Regions from separate parts of the Homo sapiens genome. Here regions 2, 3, 4 and 5 are each linked to region 1. The links are contacts of gene promoters, found by promoter capture Hi-C in blood cells and fetal thymus (Javierre and others, 2016). All regions are on one chromosome and are shown on one strand. The core of a region is centred on a gene start or on the middle of the fragment in contact, and the rest is flanking DNA. Distances in the headings are between cores, read along the strand shown.

Region 1 (2,729 bases), core at 108-2,607:
GTCTACTAATTGACTGCCTAGACAGAGGACGCACTAATATACTGTAGGATACCTCACCTACAGAAAAAGTATAATTTCAAAGACAACAGAGTTATCATTAATATCAAATAGTTAGCATCTTATAGTTCTTTAGACTTTGCAAAGTACTTTTTGCCTAGAGCATATACCGAAAAGTCAATAAAACTGAGTTCTTATTACCTAGTCACATGTCTCAACACAGATTATTAGAACTTTTGGACTCAGTTTCTCCATCCATTAAATGGAGGTAGGAAAGAGAGTTTAGTTGCTAAGCCATTGAAGCTGTGTGCTGAGATGCATCCTGTCACCCAAGACCCACACTCACACAGAGCCGGAGGTCCTTCTTGATGGTAAGAAAGGAATTGGCGAGGCTGCTGATCTTCCGGAGAGTATAATGGTCAGGGGTCTGGTAGTTTTTAAATACCCTGTCCAGATAGAGTCTTAGCAAATGGCGCAGGAGGCAGCATCGATTCGCAGGCTGCAAAAAACCACAGGTATATTGGTGAGGGGAAAGGGGAGAGCAGAGACAAGACCAGGGTGATGGAGATGCTCCCACTCCACTCCTCCTCCCAGAGTTTGTCTGGGCCAAGCACATACCTTTGTGTCTTGCAAAGACTCAGTCCTCCTTAAGATTCTGATGTCAATGTTTCCATCTTTGGCTTGCTAAACAGAAGAAGACAAAACAAGCAAGGATGAGTCAGTGCCTGCTGCCAGGGTCTTCAATATCAAGACTTCTCATCCACTCCCTGCCAAGAACTAGTGGGAGGTGTCCTTTCCCAAAACATTTTAAATATTTGAACTACAGTTATTTCTTTGGAATACATCCCCCGGGTAAGGAATCCCCAGCCTGCCTCTTTTTATGATTACACTGCCAGTACTGCCAGGAAAGAGAAACGGACAAGGAAGGAAGAGAAAAGGCTTTCAGGAGAGGTAGATACCCGCTTACGTACCACACTGCCCCGTATCTCAGAAAATCCATTTCGTATTTCCTGAAGGTTTGTGGCGATCACACAGCTTCCCAAATTGAGTGTCTTCAGTCCAGTGGAAGGAGTCCATAGGAGATAAAACGCAGCAGAGAGAAGGCTGAAGGCAAGACTAGAGGCTTTCATCTTAGGCCTGAAATCTGGAGACCACAGGAGCTAGGAATTCAAAGAAGAGAGCATGACTTACTGAGTTTCCCCTCCTCCAAGTGTCCACGGGGTGAGGGGTGGGGGGTCAGGGGAAGAGAACAGCCTTATCTGGCCTCAGACAGTGTGGCCCATCCACGCAACTTACTAAGAAAAACTGCCAAGCCTCCCGTGAAGAGAAGATTTCAGGTCTGAGTTCAGAGTCTGAGTGCGAGTTGGTGGCACAGGTCGTGGCTCCTTTATTCTGTCCCCATCCTGGCTCCGCCGTTAGTGCCCAGCAGGTAAGGCCTGGAACAGCAGGCACTTGCAGTGAATAGATAGAGAATGACATTTCAGGGGAAATGTCAAAACTTGTTTTGGGGAATTGACGCATATAGCCTCCCCTTCCAGAAAGCCAACGTAGCTCACCCTTCTGGTCCCCTCAGACCCACAGGGGAACTGGGGAGAAATCGAATCTCACAGAAGCTGTGGCTGCGCCATCGAAAACACCTAGGGGGAAATTGTCTGGATTTTATGGCCACCCACAGGGCAGAGAAACTGAGCTCTGTTTGGCATTTGTCTGAGATCAGATAGGTTATTTGAGGGTAACAGATTCGCTTAAGCCCCAGAGGCAAATAGAAAGTCAATGATTTCATAACAAGCCTACTGCCAGGGAAAGGCAAGACGTGATGGGCAATCAGCCCGATTCCACCTAACACTCGTGTCTGGGACTCCACAGCGCCCTCTGCAGGAGGACTGTAGTCAGGCACTCCTGGGTGGATTCGAGAGTACACGCTTTCCTGGACCTGCAACTCAGGTCCTAGACCAAGCAAATGGTCCCAAAAGTCAGAGAAGAAAGGCAATGACGGAACTCATTTATTCTTGGGCGAGCCTCCTCAGTAAGAGAGCAGGTTAGGGTGTTTGCTGAGTTTTAAGATAAAATAATAATGGGCTGAGGTTAGGGTAAAACAATTGAGGCACTCATTTTAGGTGCAAAATTTAAGGGAGCACTAAAAAACCTCAGTCATCAAGATAAAAATATTTTAGTGCAATATCAAAATGAATTAAAAAGCTTATGACAAACAAAATATCAAAATTTTATATAAAGACAAAATTCGACAGTGCCATGCTGAGCCATATTGAAGCAAAAGGAAAAATTTGTACCACTATTCACATGTTTTCATGTTTCATTCTTAATGGTTAACTTTGTTTCTCAAAAGCATATGATGAAAATATTATTGATGAGTTTCCTTCCCTTAAAACCAGGACAGTAAAATTATAATAAATTTTGTTTGGGGCAGAAATAAAATATTTAAACTTAAAGTCATGAGTCGTAATAAACCTACTTTTTAATTTTTCAATTTTCTCAAATACTTTAATATTTTTGAAAGAAATAAATACATAAAATTTATAAAGACATATATATATACACACACATCATATATATATATGCACACATCCATATATATATGGCTGGCTCCATAGCTTGGCACAGCACTGATAATCATTATCACTTACTGAATTTTTCCTATATGCCAGGCAATATGCTAGACATTTTTTACATTTGTGACCACTCGAGATACTGTCAAATGTAGGAAAAGGAAA
Region 2 (2,729 bases), core at 119-2,618, 230 kb after region 1:
AAATCTTGAAACCAAACCAGGAGTCTTTCTAATCATCATTACCATTTGCTAAGTATTTATTATGTTCCAAGCACTATCTGAAGCACTTTAACATATTTGCTCATTTAAAACTCACAGTAGTCCCGTGAGATAGGTATTATCTCCATCCTACACTTCAGAAAACAGTCTCAGAGTTTAATAACTTGCCCAAGGTCACCCAGCCAGTAAGTGATGAACTGAAATTCAAACCCTGGTCTGTTTGGTTGAAAAACTCAGCCCCTCGACTGCCTGTATTCCACCTGTATTCCCTGAGCCTGGCAGGCTAGCCCAGGCTAGACCACTGGACCCTTGAATTCTGTGACATAGTTTCTCTTGATTTAAGATTCTGAAGATGGTAAGCAGAATGATAGTTCCCCAAAGATGTCCGCATCCTAATTCCAAGAATCTGTAAATATGTCACTTTACTTGACAAAAAGGGACTTAGCAAATGTGATGAAGTTAAGGATCTTGAGATGGGGTGATTTTCCTAGATTATCTGAGTGGGCCCACTGTAATCACAGGAGTCCTTTTAAGATGGAAGGGGAGGCCAGGTGCAGTAACTCATGCCTGTAATCCCAGCACTTTGGGAGGCCGAAGTGGGCGGATCACCTGAGGTCAGGAGTTCGAGACCACCCTGGCCAACATGGTGAAACCCCGTCTCTACTAAAAACACAAAAATTAGCTGGGCATGGTGGTGTGTGCCTGTAGTCCCAACTACTCGGGAGGCTGAGGCAGGAGAATCACTTGAACCCAGGAGGCTGAGGTTGCAGTGAGCAGAGATCACGCCACTGCACTCCAGCCTGGGTGACAGAGTGAGACTCCATCTAAAAAAAAAGGATGGAAGGGGAAAGCAGGAGGGTCAGAGAGGGAAATGTGACCATGGAACAGAGGTCAGAGAGGGAAAGAGATTTGAAGATGCTGTTGTTGGTCTTGAAGATGGAGGAGGGGGCCGTGAGTTAAGGAATGAAGGTGGCCTCTAGAAGCTGGAAAAGGCAGGGAAACAAATTTTCTTCTAGAGCTTCCAGAAGGAACGAATCTCTGCTTACACCTCAATTTTAGGAGTTCTGACTTCCAGAACTGTAAGATAATAAATTTTCCTTGTTTCAAGCCACTAAATTTGTAATTTGTTGCATTAAAGCTTAGGAACCTTGGGTACTGTAATAGATTAAACATAGCACATCCTTTGCAGCTGTTCCCAGGGAGTAGAGGAAACAATTTTCCTGGTTCTTGAAGCTGACTGGCCACGTGACTTGATTTGACCAATAACACGTGAGGAATTTAGGCGCTTAGGCCTCAGGAGACCCCCCTTACAGCTTCTTCTCTCTTGCTCTTAGATGCTGCCACCATGTGGACAAGTCTGAGCTGGATTTCTGTAGTCCTCAGCTAATACCAATTGCCAGACAAGTGAGGGAAGCCACCTGGCTGAGTTGCCAGCTGACAGCAGCCATATGAGAGTTCCACGTAAAGCTAGCAGAAGAACCTCTTGGCTGCACCCCACCCAAATCAACAGCCCCTTGAGAATTATGAGCAAATAAAATGATTACTTTAAGCCACTAAGCTTTGGGGTATGGCAATAAATAAATGATAGGGGTACTTTTGAAAAATACCAATTATGCCTACCCTCCATCCCACCAGATCTAATGATGAACAGTTTCTTGGTAAGGATCTCTGCTCATATTTTTATTGTGGCTGTTGTTCATCAGCCAGGTTTGGAAATCACTACTGTAGACCTTGGAGACCAAGTCCTATTGAGTCATCTGGCTCATGGAAGGTCTTAGAAGACCAATGCACCTGCTCTATTCACAGCATTTGGGCCAAGGAACTAGTTCTCTCTCAATCACCTAGTGTACAGGTTAGGGCTTTTTCTATTGCAAATATCAAACTAAATCTGTTTAAAGAAAATGTACTAGCCGAGTGCGGTGGCTCACGCCTGTAATCCCAGGACTTTGGGAGGCTGAGGCAGGTGGATCACCTGAGGTCAGGAGTTCGAGACCAGCCTGGCCGACATGGTGAAACCTCATCTCTACTAAAAATACAAAAATTAACCAGGTGTGGTGGCGGGCACCTGTAATCCCAGCTACTTGGGAGGCTGAGGCTGGATAATGGCTTGAACCCAGGAGGTGGAGGTTACAGTGACCAGAGATTGTGCCATTGTACTCCAGCCTGGGTAACAAGAGCAAAACTGTCTCAAAAAAAAAAAAAAAAAAAAAAAGAAAAAGAAAACAAGGAAAAAAGAAAAGAAAATGTACCATATACCTTTTTTACAGTATTTTTTTAAAAGCAGTAAAGCTAAATTTGAATATGATGGGTGCCTGTCCTATCTCCATTTCTTGTTTCTATATTCCAACATGCTAGTTTCATTCTCAGGGTTCTTTTGTGCAAGCAAGATGGCAACTGCAGTTCCAAGTTCAACTCAGTAGAAAAGCTGTCTCAGTCATCCCACAGTCTCACTGTAATTCACTGGCTTTCACTGGGCCCATTCTTAAACCAAATATGCAGCCAGGAAAATGTAATACTCTGACTGGTCAGGCCTGAGGCTCCTAGACACAGCAGTAGAAACATATTGGACAGAAAGTTAGGAAAACAGTGACTTTCAGAGGAAAGTTGCTATAGCGGGTCCCAAAAAAGAGATAAGTGAATATGGTACAGCAAACACAACAGATATTCACTACAGCTAGGTGTTGGAAATCAGCTTTATCTGTGTTCTGAAA
Region 3 (2,729 bases), core at 91-2,590, 220 kb after region 1:
GACTACTTTTGGATAAAACAAAAGTTCCTTAAATAATATACTCATGGCATTTTTATTTTCTTTTCTTGTTCCTACACTGCCCAACAAAAAGAGTCTCTTCCAATGTCATTGAGTTTGCACCACATTCTAGAATAATAAATGGAACTGGATCATTCTGAGAACTATATTGTAAAAAGCAAATATTCTACTTTAAAGAACACACTTTTTTTGGTTTGTTTTTTAGACAGAGTCTCACTCTGTTGCCTAGGCTGGAGTGCAGTGGCATGATCTCAGCTCAAGTGATCCTCCCACCTCAGCCTCCCAAGTAGCTGGGATTACAGGCATGTGCCACTAGGCCTGGCTAATTTTTGTATTTTTTGTAGAGGCAGGGTTTCACCATGTTGCCCAGGCTGGTCTTGAACTCCTGGGCTCAAGGAATCCACCCACCTCAGCCTCCCAAAGTGCTGGGATTACAGGCATGAGCCACTAATACCCAGCCAAGAGCACACATTTAGGATAGAACTTGAGCATACTTTTGTTCTGGAAGAGGACAGAAATAGAGCAAGGGACAGGAAACAACAAACAAAACCCAGTAGCAGTGAGTTAGCTTCTGTCCCGTCTCCACCCTTGTAAGTAGGACACTGGCTTAACAATTAGTTTTATTATCAGCCCTCACTGTTTAAATCTTAGCAGAGAAAAAGAAAAGCTGTTGAAGAGAATAAAATTAAGAAACATAAAAAGGGAAAACTTGATTATCACCAGTTTCTGGATTTTTAGTTTTCTTCTTCTAACTGAAGTTCACTCAGATCTAGGGAATAGCATTAAGCTTAACGTGAAAGTGGGGGGAAAAATGTGGCACATTGAAGTGGCAGGTAGCTGTAAAGAGAAGAGGGAAGCATTTTTAAACTGTAGTAAGGTTTATCCGAGAGTGATTACTTTTATAAGGAAGAGATTCTATGAAAATGCAGCAAGGAGGCTGGTCCGTGGAGTACCACAAAGCTGGGGAACTGCAGTTTTCATGCTGATTCTCTATCTTTACCACTCTGGGTCAATTGTGGCAGAGAAGCTGTTTTATCTTCCTTGGGCATGGGAGAGGAAAGGAGGAGGGATGCATATGACTCAGTTTTTAAATCAGTACCTTACAGGGTTATTTAGTAAAGTGGTAAGGCTTCTGTAAAATGCTTTGAGTGACTAGGAAACAAATCAGAGGCAAAATAACAACATAAAATAATAACACCAAACATCAGAGAACTGAAGGGAAGAGGAGCGAGTCACTGAAAACCAGGGACACCAGTTGTCCAGGTCACCAACAGCTTCCTGGTGCTCCCCCACCCCACAGTCTGCTGTGAGCTCTTTCACCTAGAATGAGCCTAGAGAATGGCCTAGTGGGGCAAGGGACCTAGCACTGGCTCTCAGCCACAACTAACACCACATCCCAAATTACCCCTCCAGAACAGATGCCGAGGGACACTAGAAGCGAGGAGTAGTTGGGATACTTTTGCTACACCTTCTATCTTGAGAGAAAGAGATTTAAACCAATAGTATAATACATCAGTTGAAATACATCTGACGATAATAACAAAGATGCATTGACCTATAAAAAGTCATTTAATGCATATTCCAGATGGCCAATACAAGCTGGTTAGGTAATTAGCCCTTGAAGAATTCTTTTATAATCATATAAAAATGTTTTGTCTTGTTTAAAAAAAGTCTACTCTAACAAAAACATCCACCAATGGGCTTGCATTTTTTCCATTTGCAGGTTTGTAAGATCATAAAAATATACACATATGCATCTCTGGGCATATCTCTGTCCACTAGCTAATCAGTTTTGGCAATACACTGCATAGGGGTATACTACCATTGGTTTCTGACATTAAGTTAGCTTTAAGCTTATTGGCTATTCCAACAACTGGAGGCAGCTTAGAACCCAATCCCTGGAAAGCACTTGCAGGATTAACTACCCGTTTCCCTGACACCTTGTCTATGGTGGTGAGAGGTCTGGGGACAGACTTGCTAATCCAAGGGTGTCTTAATGCTTGAGCTGGGGTCAAGCGGGCAGAGGGGTCCCAGTGAAGACACCTTTTCAAGAACTCTATAAACAAGTAGTCATCACACCCTTTCAGTGCTGTCCCCCAGTCTTTGCTGCCTGGGGGACCCCGCTTTTTACCCCTACGTGAGCGACCCCCCACAAGCACAACCCTCCCATCTGCCTGGGTAGTCACAGAGCAGTAGCGGGGTATGCCCTTGGAATTAATAAAGTACTTGGCACGTTTGGATTGCTCCAGAAGTTTTGGTGGTGGCATCCCTAGAAGCTCCATCATGCAGGCCAACTGGTCTCCTTCATCCTCTCCAGGGAAGAGAGGCTGTCCTGTTAAAAGTTCTGCAAGGATGCAGCCAAAACTCCATATGTCAATTGGTGTGCTGTAGCGGCTTCCTAAGATGATTTCTGGAGCTCTGTAGAACCGAGACTGGATATATGTGTAGAGCTTCTGGTACTCGAAACAGCTGGACCCAAAGTCAATGACCTTGGTTGAACTGCGCCCGTGGTGTTTCAGGAGAATGTTTTCTGGCTTCAGATCGCAGTGAATAATCTTATTTTTGTGGAGGGCATCCAAAGATTGCAAGATGGACTGGGCAAACTTGCGTACCAACTGGACGCTAAAACCCTGAAACTTATTTTTTTTAATCAGCTCATAAAGGTCTATGCTCAGCAATTCAAAGGCCATGCAAACATGGTTCCGGAATGT
Region 4 (2,729 bases), core at 114-2,613, 190 kb after region 1:
CTAAGATTAGAATAGGGGTAGGAGGGGCAGCTTTCAGACTTTGGTCAAGACAACAGCTTCGTGGAGTAGAGGTGTTGAGCCAGTATTTTAATTTTTTATCGCCAGTAAAGGGTTATACTCGAAGGACAAAGGTTGAACACTCCACAGGCTCAAGAGAATGAGATAGGAGTGGAGGGAAGCGGGGGAGGGAGCCATTATCTTGAGGACAATGGTGACACAGTCATCCTTTAGATCCTGGCTTCCCCTGGGGACCTGAGGAGAAGCGGTGGCAGGGAGGAAGCAGGTGGTTCCAGGGTCCTCGCTATATGAACCAAAAAGGCAGGTAAAGAAAAACAAAATGAAACCACCAGAGAGAGCCTCTAATTAATTGAATTAAAATTAAATGAAAAAAAAAAAACCTCCCTCTCAGACACAAACAAAGACACACAGAGCACACAGACACACCCTGAAGCACCAGCTAGCTACACTAAGGATCAAGAGAGGATGTGATCTCACCTATGTATTTATTGTGATAATTATTGTTGTTGGAGTTTTTTCCCCCAAAGGACAATCATAAGCCTGGGGCTGGATGGTGAGCGACAGGTTAGAAATGGGAAAATGAGAAAAGCCCACTGTGACCCTTTGAATAATCAACCTCAGGCTGTCAGGTGTTGAACCAGTACAAGGAGGGAACAGTAATGATATCAAACACTTCCACAGCATTCCCTATGTGCCAGACACTGTTCTAAGCACTTTCCACATATTTTCTCATTCAACACTTGCAGCAACCCTGTGAAATAGACTACTACTATTAGGACATTATCATTCATATGCATTTCCACCCTGGCTGTCTTGGCATCTCCGAGCCTGTAAAAGACGAGTTTCTTTAGTTCCCTACCTCTGTTCAGGGCCAGTTAGCTCCTTTGCCGGACCCAGTGCAAAATAAACATGCATAGCACCTTGTTCAGAAATTATTAAGAATTCCAGGCTGGGCGCGGTGGCTCATGCTTGTAATCCCAGCACTTTGGGAGGCCGAGGAGGGCGGATCACGAGGTCAGGAGATAAAGACCATCCTGGCTAACACGGTGAAACCCCGTCTCTACTAAAAATACAAAAAAAAAAAAAATTAGCCGGGCATGGTGGCGGGCGCCTATAGTCCCAGCTACTTGGGAGGCTGAGGCAGGAGAACGGCCGTGAACCCGGGAGGCGGAGCTTGTTGTGAGCGGAGATCGCGCCGCTGCACTTCAGCGTGGGTGACAGAGCAAGACTCCGTCTTGAAAAAAAGAAAAGAATTCCAAGTGAGTATTAAACCCACACAGCGTCCTTATAAATGCAGGTCCCTGTGCAATGCATGGCTTGCATGCCCATGAAGCTGGCCCTGCATAGAACCTCCCCGAATCATTGCACAGAACAATTGTGCTGTCTTCTGTTATCCTACCCTGGTGCATGCCCAACTCCTAAACAAGGAAAGGGGAGGGAAAAAAACACATTCTACCCCAAATATATTGGCTGTATGTAGATGGCTTTGTTGAAGAAGATATTCCTCAGCTAAATGAAAGTTTGAGAACCATGATCTAGATGTTTTTCTTGTCTTCCTATCCTCCCCCCATACCTAGAAGACAATACAGACGATTTGTTAAAATCTCTCCCACTGTTGTTTCAGGAGGTTTGTCCTTTTATTCACCCCTCTCCTCACATCCCACATCTAATCAGCTGGCAATTCTTGCTGACTCTATCTCAGCAAGGCCTCCTGTATCCTGCCCTCTTTTCCATCTCCCCTGCAACTGCCCTAGATTTCTCTCACCTAGAATATTCCACTAGCTCACTAACTAGATTCCTTGCCTTCAACCCCGTGCTTTTCCAATCCATCCTTTATGATGCTTGTTATACTTGGCCTTTTATTCGTCACTTTTGAGGACTTTTTTTTCTCCCAAGTTGTCAATTTCTCAAGGGCAGATACTCCATTCCCAGTCACCTGTGCCCTCCTCAGTAGCCCCGAGAGGAGCAGTCTGTGCTTGCTGAGTATGCGTGCAATGACTCCCTTGCAAATATCTCGCCTTTTCCATTAGGCTCACATTCTAGACAAAAGCTCAGCCTTTTGAACTCTCAGTCTAGAGAGTTCCTTTGTCTTAAATTCTAGAGAAAAGCATGATATCCAAAGTCTTATCTCATATTACAATAAAAATGTAGCCAATTGCAATAATTAGGAGGGTTTACTTCCCAATGTATCAATAAGGCATGGAAATAATTATGAGAAGCTGTGGAGAGGACAAATGGGTGTCTCTTGCTTGGAAGGCTTAGTTTGACTTGGCTTCAACCAAAAAAGGCAGAAAGGCCTGACTTCCATAATCTTCATTACCCATAGCAAAGTAATTGGTCTGTTTAAACAATCAGGATTGTTTTAAAGAATGATGGCCTTGAGTGCTACTTTAGGGAAGAAACCACAGTCAAAGATGGTTTACCTCAACATTTCAAAAGGTCTTACTGGTACCCTAATCTCATTTAAAAACCAGCCTAAATTACCTTGGATCCAGAATATGAGAACCATCCTATATCAGTTAGGACGCATGCAGCTGAAAAGACAACTGGCAATGGCTTAAATCATAAAGATGCTAATAGTTTCTTAACAAGGCTAAAGGGAGGTGATCTCGGGTTGTTCAGCAGCTCAACAAAGTCCTCAAGCTCCATCAAGGATCCGGGTCTGACCGTCCTCTGCTTTGCCATGCTCAGCAGACAGGACCTCTCCACCA
Region 5 (2,729 bases), core at 77-2,576, 160 kb after region 1:
TTGCTCCTCCCCCATCTGAGTGACTCTGGGTCTCTGTGGCTGTGGCCAGGGAAAGGCAGGGAGAGGGCAAGAAGGAATGGGAGATGAAGGACACCTCCCCTAGCTCCTTCTGGGAACAGACTAACTCCTGTCCCTGTGGGAAGACCAGGAGGGGAAAAGCAGCCTTTTAAGATTAAGCAAATAAATAAATAAATAAATAAATAAATAAATAAATAAATAAATAAGAGATAGGAAATCCTGACCCCGCCTTAATTACACTGGAAGTGTATAATCCTCAGGAAGAGTAGCTGATTCCCACCCCACACTCCCATTTACTCCCAGTTGCCAGTTTCCTGAGAAATAACCACTGCCTCACAGCGAAGCTGCACCAGAAGGGTGTTGAGGCCTGCAACAGGCTCCGGGAATTCCCTAAGCCTGGGTTTGTTCCAAGCGAAAAATCCAGTAAAGCCTCCCAGTCATTTCTCAGGAGTCGGCCATCTGCAGGACCCATCATTCATATCCACCTCCGACCAACGTTCCAAGCACAAGTCCAGCCAGGACTCTCGAATTTTCAAACTCCACAAACTTCCATAAATCCAGTTCACAATTCTGAATTCCTCCTTGAATTTAACCCAAAATGCCTTTGTCTCAGCTCCCTGGGTAACGGAGAGCTAATCGCCTTTCTGCCCTGGTCCACCCTCCAGATGCCCTTGGGTTGGTGGAGAAAGGAGAAAGCATCCAGCCCACCTGCTTCTTCCTGGCTGTCCCTCAAGAGTCAACACAATTGCACCCATCGGAAAGGAGAAGGCAGAGAGATAAGGGAGCTAAATCTTGTTCCCCTCTGCTTCCAGGATTAGCAAGCAGCTGCCTCAGAATCACCAGCCTCTCCCTTGTCCAATACCCAGGCACTCTCGGCAGCCTGGCCCTCCAGCAGGAGTGTCTACTCATGCAACCCCATGCTGCACATTGCTGCTTCCCAGGCATGACAGATGCAGCTGCTATTCAGTGTTTTCATGCCAGGACAAAAGCTTCTCCAGAAGCACAAAGCCAACAGGGAGGCAGACAGAGCTGATTTCAATAGAAGCCACCTGCCGGGGCCCCTCCTCTGCCACACCCCTCCCCCCAACCCACCGTACATACACATGCAAACATACATACACCTTTTTCAAACCTCTCCAACTTGTGCTGACCCAGAGTCAGGTGACTTTTGCTCTGAATCACTGAACAGTTCTCCCAGAGAAGGGGGGCTGTTGCCATTTCTCAAATAGTATTCCGTAGGATGTTAATAAGTGCTAAGTAAAAAGGGGTCATATAGATGGCAGAAGCACCAGGTTAAACAAAGTTAAACAGATTCTTTCACTGTAGAACTTCTCAGAGCTTTTAATTCAGTAATGTGCATTGCAGACTGTTCCCCAGTTTAGATGATCACAGAGTGTCTCGGGACTGGCGCTGCACTTGGAGAAACGGGCGGCTCCTTCTTCCAAGTTCACCCAGTTCCCTGAACATAGCTCTCCTACCACTTGGAGTACACAAGAAATACCTTGCTTACATGTTTCTCCCTCAATAAGCCTGCAGTGAACAGATGAATGGACAGATTAAGAAGTGCACACACACACTTGTGGTGCACTCATCTTCACTTATTCAGTTCAAATGATGATGAAGCTTCTGGAAGGACCATTAGACTTCATAAAAGGGACTGAACCCATGCACACCCTCAAGTCAACCTTGACTGCAGATCATGTGTGCTTATGTCACCACGGACAGATATCAGCCCCTAGATGAGCCGGCTGGTTTTATTCCCTCATCAAGTCCTCCCCGACCCTGGACCTCAGGCACTGTTTTGTATCCGGCTATAAAGGAAGTTGGGTGACTGCTTTCAATGTACTGTACACATCAGCAGTCAGTGAGAAGTCACCACCATAACCATCACACATGGTCTGGGTGAGCTGAGCCACCACCACCACTAATTCCAGCAACCTGAAAGGAAAAGCAGGATGCCTGCCAAGCGTGCCCAGCAAGGGGACCCTGGGAGACCCCATCCGACCTCCTCCATCCGTGGGCCAGGTAACAAATGGACAGGTAACAACGAGTGAGAGACACTCAGACAGGCGTAAATCTTCAACATTTCCCAGAAAGTCTAGTGCGTTCATATTCAAATGACATATCTCAGATTTTCTTTTGGATCTGAAAGTAGGACCCCTCCCCAACTCCAGGAAAAACTATCAGATAGACCCTCACTTTGGATTGGAAAAATATAGCCTGTGTACCCTGGGGTATACCCATCAGCCTCTGTGATTTCCTGGGATAGGCTTTTTGCTTCATTCATAATGAAGCAGACCCTGAAAGGGTGTCTCCCACTGACTTCCGCAGGCAGCTGAACCCAGAAGCAGATGCTCACCTCCCCCAGGATGGGGTGCAGGGCACTCTCAAGCTCCCCGCCCTCACAAGAAGCCTCTGCCTCTTTAGCAGGCTGCCCCTGCTCTGAAGCCACTGACTGTTCCTGGCCTGCATGTTTCTTACAACGCCTTCAGCAGAGATGGAGATTGTGGTTAGTGTCTGGGTACCTCAAGGGGCTGGGGAATTCCTCATGCTCTGGTTGTGATCTAGAAGGGAGGAGGCTCTGATGTCAGCTCTCCCCTCCTGCCCCCAGGAGCATCAAAAGAAAATACAATGAGATATTACCAGGCATTACGGAAAAGTCTCTATCGCTGAATACAAGTGTGTGCTGCATCACCTTAGGATAAATGCCA

Evidence for each region. The method cuts DNA at HindIII sites, captures the fragments that hold promoters and counts their contacts. A CHiCAGO score of 5 or more calls a contact.
Region 2: a fragment that was not itself captured here is called in contact with the fragment with the promoter of IL20 in region 1 in 1 of 17 cell types (activated CD4 T cells); the score reaches 7.9 in activated CD4 T cells.
Region 3: a fragment that was not itself captured here is called in contact with the fragment with the promoter of IL20 in region 1 in 2 of 17 cell types (activated CD4 T cells and naive B cells); the score reaches 7.5 in activated CD4 T cells.
Region 4: a fragment that was not itself captured here is called in contact with the fragment with the promoter of IL20 in region 1 in 1 of 17 cell types (activated CD4 T cells); the score reaches 5.3 in activated CD4 T cells.
Region 5: a contact is called between a fragment that was not itself captured here and the fragment with the promoter of IL20 in region 1, in 6 of 17 cell types (activated CD4 T cells, naive CD4 T cells, non-activated CD4 T cells and 3 more). The highest score is 9.0, in activated CD4 T cells.

Annotation. Positions count from the first base shown.
Region 1 is chr1:206,864,251-206,866,979 of GRCh38, reverse strand. IL20 (interleukin 20) reads right to left here and starts at 1,357. Exons shown (of 6, transcript NM_018724.4): 1 at 1,294-1,357; 2 at 969-1,157; 3 at 616-681; 4 at 344-496. The coding sequence starts at 1,127. The HindIII fragment of the contact is 6,531 bases long and covers 1-2,198 here.
Region 2 is chr1:206,629,894-206,632,622 of GRCh38, reverse strand. No RefSeq gene overlaps it. Among named protein-coding and RNA genes, the nearest start is that of DYRK3, 4.3 kb to the left of the region's middle. RefSeq lists an enhancer at 1,232-1,301. The HindIII fragment of the contact is 420 bases long and covers 1,159-1,578 here.
Region 3 is chr1:206,648,033-206,650,761 of GRCh38, reverse strand. It overlaps DYRK3 (dual specificity tyrosine phosphorylation regulated kinase 3), which reads right to left. Exons shown (of 3, transcript NM_003582.4): 3 at 1-2,729. The coding sequence ends at 1,797. Among named protein-coding and RNA genes, the nearest start is that of DYRK3-AS1, 14 kb to the right of the region's middle. The HindIII fragment of the contact is 1,066 bases long and covers 808-1,873 here.
Region 4 is chr1:206,669,664-206,672,392 of GRCh38, reverse strand. No RefSeq gene overlaps it. Among named protein-coding and RNA genes, the nearest start is that of MAPKAPK2, 14 kb to the left of the region's middle. The HindIII fragment of the contact is 4,234 bases long and covers 1-2,729 here.
Region 5 is chr1:206,703,609-206,706,337 of GRCh38, reverse strand. All of the region lies in intron 1 of MAPKAPK2 (MAPK activated protein kinase 2), which reads right to left. Among named protein-coding and RNA genes, the nearest start is that of MAPKAPK2, 20 kb to the right of the region's middle. RefSeq lists an enhancer at 2,214-2,523. The HindIII fragment of the contact is 634 bases long and covers 1,010-1,643 here.